2 separate regions of the Homo sapiens genome follow, and region 2 is linked to region 1. Evidence: promoter capture Hi-C in human tissues and cell types (Jung and others, 2019). All regions are on one chromosome and are shown on one strand. Each heading gives the region's core, a stretch centred on a gene start or on the middle of the fragment in contact. The rest is flanking DNA. Distances are from core to core; before and after follow the strand shown.

The links. The method cuts DNA at HindIII sites, captures the fragments that hold promoters and counts their contacts. A contact is called where the count stands out against the background at its distance.
Region 2: a fragment that was not itself captured here is called in contact with the fragment with the promoter of SPOCK2 in region 1 in 1 of the 25 tissues and cell types used here (lymphoblastoid cells).

Annotation. Positions count from the first base shown.
Region 1 is chr10:72,086,774-72,090,868 of GRCh38, reverse strand. SPOCK2 (SPARC (osteonectin), cwcv and kazal like domains proteoglycan 2) reads left to right here and starts at 2,318. Exons shown (of 11, transcript NM_001244950.2): 1 at 2,318-2,729. The coding sequence starts at 2,541. The HindIII fragment of the contact is 11,919 bases long and covers 1-4,095 here.
Region 2 is chr10:72,843,916-72,848,010 of GRCh38, reverse strand. All of the region lies in intron 2 of MCU (mitochondrial calcium uniporter), which reads right to left. Among named protein-coding and RNA genes, the nearest start is that of OIT3, 48 kb to the left of the region's middle. The HindIII fragment of the contact is 5,105 bases long and covers 1-4,095 here.

The DNA.
Region 1 (4,095 bases), core at 1,069-3,568:
TCCAGCTGGAGTGCAGTGGCACGATGCTAGCCCAGTGTAGCCTTAATTCCGAGGCTCAAGCAGTCCTCTCACCTCAGCCTCCGAGTAGCTGGGACCACAGGCATGTGCAACGTGGCTCATTTTTTAAATTTTGTATAGAGATAGGGTCTCGCTATGTTGCCCACGATGGTCTGGAACTCCTAGGCTCAAGCCATCCTCCTGCCTCTTGGCCTCCTAAAGTGCTGGGATTACAGGTGTGAGTCAGCACACCTGGCCCTTTTTTTCTTCTTTGTAAACTAAAACTATTGGCCATTTCCTACAAGTTTTACACCAGTCATCTGGAAATTTGGGTTCTTCTTCCTAAATAGCATTACTATTGGCTTCACTAATGGGACTGGAATGTTGTTGATTAGCTTTCGACACAGGACTAGTATTGACCCAGCTTGAAGGTGCTACAGAAGGCAAGTCCCACTGGAGAAGCTACCTGGGACTGTGGGAGCCATTTTGACCCTCAGAGTCTGGAGACAGCTATTGTCATATTGATGGGCATCTTGACAGCACCTTTCCAAACTCTTTATTCAGCAACTTTGGTAACTCTGGAAGCCCCTAAGATAGCACAGGAATGGGAGAGCTGTGGTATCTGGTACCTATCTCCTAAGTGCCTTAGAGATATATAGCTAGCTTTGCTAAAAACGAAAACAGAAACAAAAAAAAAAAAAACAACAAAAAACTAGGATTGTAGGATTGAGATGGTGGAAAAGATGGCAAATTTTGATGAATCTTCAGAACTATGGGACACCGTAGCCTTCTCTTCCCAACCAGAGGAAAGACTAACTTTTTAAAAAAATGCCCATTATGCCCACTTAGTATGTAATTTTGCTTGCACTTTACAGCAGTTTTAATGATGGTATTACCATTAGTTTTAGATAGAAAATAGGTAATTGCTCAAGAATCCAGCCAGTAAGTGGGATTCTGTCCTCTAGTCTCCACGACAGCAAGCCGTGCTCTCTCACTGTACAGCGCCAGGACACACCCAGGAAGAATGCTTTATTACTGTGAGATGAAGACGTCAATGGCCAGGGCCTCACTGCAGCACCACCACTAAATCCAACAGCAAAGGAAACAAGAAAACATGGAAAGGGAGCTATTGTTTTCTGTTTTCCCAACGAGACTCCGGCCTGAGCCACTGAGGCATTCAGAGTTCCCAGATAGGCCAGATTCAGGGTGACAAGGAACCTTGTAAGCTATGTTTTTTCCTACTGATTAAGATTATGTTTTTTAAAGCATTTTAAATTTTTATTTTATTTTTAGATCACAGCAGCTAAGTCTTTTTATAAAAACACAATCTAGGGCTTGGGTCCCAAAAGTTCACTAGGTTTTGTCCCATCAGATGATGTTTCCTCTTTAATGTATTTGTAATGTAAACCTGTCCCCATTTCTGCTGTGCTCTTGGGACTGTGGCCAGCCTCCAGCCTTCCCCGCTGGTATGTCAACATTTAAATCTACAGCCAATAAGGAGGGTCGCAGTTTCAACAAAACCCGAAACACCTCAAACAAAACCAGCACCCCACCCCAGCCCCCCACTCCCCGGCTTCCCCAGTGGCTTATTCAAACTAACTTGAAGTCAAAAAACCATAAGCAAATATGCCTTTTCCAAATTTGCAGCCTCCAAGGCAGATGAAATGGTCAGACATTTGCCTTTTAGGGTTGTCCTGGGAAGAGCTGACAAAACGGGTGACAGCCCCTAAACAGCTGCCTGGGGAGGAGGACATCTGCCTCTGTTTCACCAGCCACTCAGTGCTCAGGCCTTGCCTTGCGCAACGCGGTGCCGCTGGGGAGCAATGGTTCTGAGCAGCCAGTTGTTATACGGCTTTTGTCTTAACGAAGCCACCCATTACGGTAGAGCCATAACTCGCAGGAAGCCAGCTGTCAGGGCTGTGGCGCAGGCCCCTCTGGGTGGGAGGCAAGGGGAGAAAAACAGTGTCTGGCCAAATTCCCTTTCCGACACCTGAGCCTGGCTGGCTTTGTAACCGGAGAGTTTTGTGCCCTCTCCCCCATCCCATCTTCCCCGGGGAGATCCTGGGGCCCTTCTTGCTCTCCATCCTTTGAGGGAGCTCAGGGACATTTCGGGATTCTGGATTTCTTGGTCTGCAACTCCCTGTGTGCCAGGCGGGGCTGGGCCCCGCTGCGGCTGGCTGGCGTTTGGCGCTCTCATCGAGGGAGCGCTTCGCTTTGAAATCTACCCACTCCTTTTTTTTTTTTTTTTTTAAACCAGGTATGATGATGTCAAACGTGATGCTGATGCTACAGTTACAGCCCCTGCTGGCGCAGCCTCTCTGATTCTCTCTCCCTCTCCGCGTCCAGTGCTGGGCTTTTTCAGACAAGTGCATCTCCTAACCAGGTCACATTTCAGCCGCGACCCACTCTCCGCCAGTCACCGGAGGCAGACCGCGGGAGGAGAGCTGAGGACAGCCGCGTGCGCTTCGCCAGCAGCGGGGTGGGAGGAAGGACATTAAAATACTGCAGAAGTCAAGACCCCCCCAGGTCGAACCCAGACCACGATGCGCGCCCCGGGCTGCGGGCGGCTGGTGCTGCCGCTGCTGCTCCTGGCCGCGGCAGCCCTGGCCGAAGGCGACGCCAAGGGGCTCAAGGAGGGCGAGACCCCCGGCAATTTCATGGAGGACGAGCAATGGCTGTCGTCCATCTCGCAGTACAGCGGCAAGATCAAGCACTGGAACCGCTTCCGAGACGTGAGTCCGCAGGGCTGCCAAGGCAGAGACCCGGGGTTGCGGGTTCGGGGATTGAGCTCCGGGGTCTGCGGGAGCGGCCGCCGCACGTCGCAGCCCGAGGCTCCGCAGCCTGGCCGGCTAATTACACGGAAAGTAAACAGTACTGGGGGTCACAGCCCAGCGCCCCTCCCCTGTCCCTGCGGCCCGGGCCGGCGGCCCTGGGACCCCCCAGCCCCGGGACCCCCAGCTCCACACCTGCCCGACGCTCCGGGGTCGCGCGCTCCGGGGTCTCCCCTGCGGGCCGGGAGTGGGAAGGGGTGCGGGGCCGGGGGGACCCGGACCCCGGCTGCCGCTGGACCCCGACCCGGTCCCCAGCTGCGTTGTGCGAGCCGCCCCCGGGCCTGCCCCAGCCGCTGGGATGCTGCAGGCTGCACATACGGGGCACTGCAGCACCGGCAGGTCTGGGTGGGGCCGGCAGTGAGGGTGGCATCGGCTCGCGCGGTGCCCTCTGTTCCCACCGTGGGCTTTGCGGGAGGGGGACAGCATGGGACGGGAGTGTGACCGGGGCTCTGGGTCTGGGGTCCCAGCAGCCTTCTAGGCGAGATGGTGGAAGGCGTGTCCGTACGGGGGTGGGCTGGGGTCCCCGTGCAGAAGGGCGCGCGAGGACCCAGGCTGGTTTTCCCGGACCAACATTTCAGGGGGGAATCCAGCCTGGAGCGAGGGGAGCAGCTCGGAGCCAGAGGAAGGCTCCCGGCCCGGTGGGCTTGAGAAGCCGGGGAGAGTCCAGAAGCTGGGTTTGGGGGCCCCCGGCGGGCGCCGCCCGAACCCCGGCGTAACCTTGGGCCGAACTCCGCGGGGTGGGGGCGGGGGGGTAGCTGCGGCACTTTTGTTTACCGGCACCTGTGGATCAGAGGGGAAGTCGCAGGCGGCGGCCCGGCGGGGCTGGCTCCTTCCTCTCGGCCGGGCCGGGTTGGGGGCTGGGGAAGCAGGGGTGAGGCAGGGCGGGCGGAGGGTGTGGCTGGACCCCGAGATCGTTGGGGGTGCTGTGGGGGATGGGCCCGGATGCGCCAGAGGCGACGCCGGCTGCTCCTGGCGACCTGGTGCTCACCGCGGCCCTGACCCCAGAAAACCTCTTCTAGGACCCTGGCCCTTACTCCTCCTTCCCCAGGTTCCCTCGTCCGACCCACCCAGTACAACGCAGGCCACACCATGACCTCTCCCGTTTTCTCCTTAAACTGCGTGCATCCACAAGTTCCTTGGAAATTTGTTTAAAACACACATGCTTCATAGGCTATCCAGCCAAGTGATGGGAAGAGGCAGAGATTTGGATCTTTTTGTTACCGTCAGACAAGTGACTGTTTCTCCCCAAAGTCAAACTGGCAGGTTG
Region 2 (4,095 bases), core at 1,166-3,665, 760 kb before region 1:
CAAGACTATGTCATAATAGGCTTTACTTCTGCTTTGGTCTCTTGTACACTTGCTCTAGGGGAAGCCGGTCATCATATCATGAGGACAATCCTGCAGCCCTATGGAGAAGCCCACATGGAGAAGTGGTACCTTCTTGACCAAAAGTAAACTTGTCAACCATGTTAGTGAGTCACCTTAGAATCAGATCTTCCGGCCTCAGTCAAGCCAGATGATTAAGGCCCTGACTGACATGGGGCTGCACCCTCAAAAGACTACAAACTGCTCAGCCAAACTATTCCTAAATCCCTAATCCACAGAAACATGAGAGATAATAAAAGATTAGTTTATGCCCCTTTGTTGTAATTTGCTGTACAGTATTAAATAACCAAATATAGTATGACTTTGCATATATTTATATTTTATAGTAATATCTCCTATACATGGAGGATATGTTCTAAGACTCTCAGTGAATACCCAGCTGCAGATAGTACAGAACCCTATATATAGTATTTTTTTTGCTATACATACATACCTATGATAAAGTTGAGGAACTACCTATTTCTGGCTTTTGACTGGGGGCTATGCTTCCCAGCCTGTTAGAATGGCCACCCTGAAGGTTGCAACCCTTTATGAGAAATGAAGTTCTCCTTTCCAAATTTATAAACCTTGGAATTCTTCAGTTGACACGAGTGGCCTATGAGGATGGGATCTGTGGAGAACCCCAGGTTCCCCCAACTTGATCAGAAATCATTATACAGGACAGGTGCGGTGGCTCATGCCTTAAATCCCAGCACTTTGGGAGGCCGAGTCGGGCAGATTACTTGAGGTCAGGAGTTCTAGATCACCCTGGCCAACATGGCAAAACTCCGTCTCTAGTGAAAAAGTGCAAAAAATTAGCTGGGCATGGTGGCGTGTGCCTGTAGTCCCTGTTACTTGGGAGGCTGAGGCAGAAGAATCGCTTGAACCCGGGAGGCGGAGGTTGCAGTGAGCCCAGTTTGCACCACTGCACTCCAGCCCGGGCGACAGGGTGAGACTTCGTCTCAATAAAAAAGGAAATCAATACACTGACATCTAAAGCTCAGCTGTCTCCCTGACCACACTGGGAGGAAGTTTCCCTGGATCTAAGATCTCCTACTTTTAGGTAGATTTTGGAGGCTTTATTCCTCTCCATTTGGATTATTCCTTTCCACTCCTTCCCTTCATTGCTTCCTGGTCCCTTCCCAGTCCCTATCCTGGTTCCCTCCATCTGGACCCTAAAGGGAACAACTTTGTTAGCTCTGGCTTTGAGGGGTGGGAGGAGCCTTCCCAGGCCAGTCAAACATTTTCATTTTCAAAAAAGAAGAAAAAAAATTTTTTTAAGTTTAATTTATAAATTAGGCAAAATAAGAGATTATCAGAAAGAACTAAGAAAAAAATAGAACAATTAAAACAACATGCCAGCATCACTACTCTTGTACATGGGGGGTTAGTATTAAGTAAAATAAGGGTTACTTGACCACAACTGCTGCAGTACTACAACAGTCAATCCGGTAACTGAAACAGCTACTAAGTGACTAATGCGCGAGTAGCATATAAAGCATGGATATGCGGAACAAAGGGATGATTCACATCCCAGGTGGGACTGAGCAGGAGAGCACAAAATTTCATCACACTACTCAGAATAGCATACAATTTAAAACTTATTAATTGGGCCGCGTGCAGTGGCTCACACCTGTGATCCCAGCACTTCGGGAAGCTGATGCAGGCAGATCACTTGAGGGCAGGAGTTTGAGACCAGCCTGGCCAACATGGTGAAACCCTGTCTCTGCTGAAAATACAAATATTAGCTGGGTGTGGTGGCAGGCACCTGTAATCCCAGCTACTCGGGAGACTGAGGCAGGAGAAGTGCTTGAACCTGGGAGGCAGAGGTTGCAGTGAGCTGATATTGCACCACTGCACTCCAGCCTGTGACAGAGCAAGACTCTGTCTCAAAAAAAAAAATTGTTTATTTCTGGAATTTTCCATTTAATATTTTCAGACTGCGGTTGCCTGTGGGTAACTGAAACTATGGAAAGTGAAGCCATGGAAAAAGGGGTGGAGGGGAGACTCCTATATATAAAGGATCATGGTGTATACAAACCTCTAAAACTTGCCTTTTATGATAATCATTGCTTTGAGGTTTATCAAAGTTGGATCGTATTTCTGGAAATATTCACTTAAACTCCTATATATAAGGAAGTGGTAAATTTTAAAAAAAGAAAAAAACACTCCTATATAGAATTTCATTCTATGAATACATTGCTTAACGACAGGGATACATTCTGAGAAATGCATCATTAGGTGATTCTGTCACTGTGTGAACATCATAGATAATATTTACAAAACCTAGAAGGTATAGCCTACTACACACCTAGTAGGTATCTAGGTATTGCTCTTAGGCTACAAACCTGTATACCATGTTACTGTGCTGAATACTGTCAGCAACTGTAACACAGTGGTAAGTATTTGTATATCTAAACATTTCTGAACACAGAAAAGGTGCAGTAAAAATACAGTATTATACTCTTTTGGGACCAACATCACATATGTGGCCCATTGTTGACTGAAACATTGTTGTTATTCAGTACATGCATGACTGTATACCGTAATTTATATATCGAAAAACCAGATTTTCCCCCTATTATAAATAAAAATAAGGCTAAGAGAAAGTAGCACTACTCAATGTTTTTAGTTTCTGATGTAAATTTTTATTTCCTTTTAGAGCCTTGTGTTTCACATTTTACTCCTTAATTCATCTGGAACTTACTTATTTTTGTAATGTAGAGAAGTTGACTGTAATAGCACCATTTATTAAATAGTCTGCCCTTTCTCCTTGGCTTTACAATGCTAATCAATCACATGTCAGATTTCTATATATGCAAGCTTCCTCTAATCTGATCCAACAATCTTTCCTATACTAATACTTCATTGTTTTGATTATTATAGTTTTAGAAATACATCTTAATATGTGCTTAGGTACCACATGCCCCCTTGTTTTCCTATTCCAAATTTATCTTAGTTTTTTATATAGCTTTACTCTTTCATGTGAATTTTTAAGTAAGTTGATCAGCTCCTACTGGGGTTTTGATTAGCATTGCATTGAGTTTATAAATTCATTCTTCATATCTATTAACATGGTATAACTCTGCATTTATTCCTATCTTATGTCCTTCAATAAAGTTTATTATTCTCAATAAATGTCTTACATTTTATTTTTACTAGTTTCATGCCTAGATGCCCTCAAGTAATTTAACAATCACTTATATTCCTAAGGATAATTCCAAAAGTCTATATGCTTTTTTGTTAAATTATATGTTAGACAAAATATAAGATTGTCATTTTAATAGAATAAACTAAATATCTATCTACTTTGGTGACAATAAGGAGCTTCCTTATACATTACCGCAAAAATATCCTCAGAATATCTATATATATATATTTTTTGAGACAGAGTCGCATTCTTGTCACCCAGGCTGGAGTGCAGTGGCATGATCAGGGCTCACTGCAGCCTTGACCTCCCAGGTTTAAGAGATCCTCCTGCCTCAGCCTCCTGAGTAGCTACAACTACAGGTGTATGCCTCCATGCCCAGCTAATTTTTTGTATTTCTATTTTTTTACATTTTTTTTGAGATGGAGTCTTGCTCTGTTGCCCAGGCTGGAATGCAGTGGCACAATCGTGGCTCACTGCAACCTCTGCCTCCCGGGTTCAAGCGATTCTTCTGCCTCAGCCTCCTGAGTAACTGGAATTACAGGTGCCCACCACCACACCCAGCTAATTTTTATATTTTTAGTAGCGATAGTGTTTTGCCATGTTGGCCAGGCTGGTCTCGAACTCCTGACCTAAGGTGATCTGCCCGCCTTGGCCCCGCAAAGTACTGAGATTGCAGGCATGAGCCACCACACCCAGACTAATTTTTTGTATTTTTAGTAGAGATGGTTTTACCAAGTTGCCTAGGCTGGTCTCAATCTCCTGAACTCAGGTGATCAACCTGCCTTGGCCTCCCGAAGTGCTAGGATTACAGGTGTGAGCTGCTGCACCTGACAGAATATCTATAATTAATATGTATAAACAAAATGTGTTTGCTTCACAATAATCTC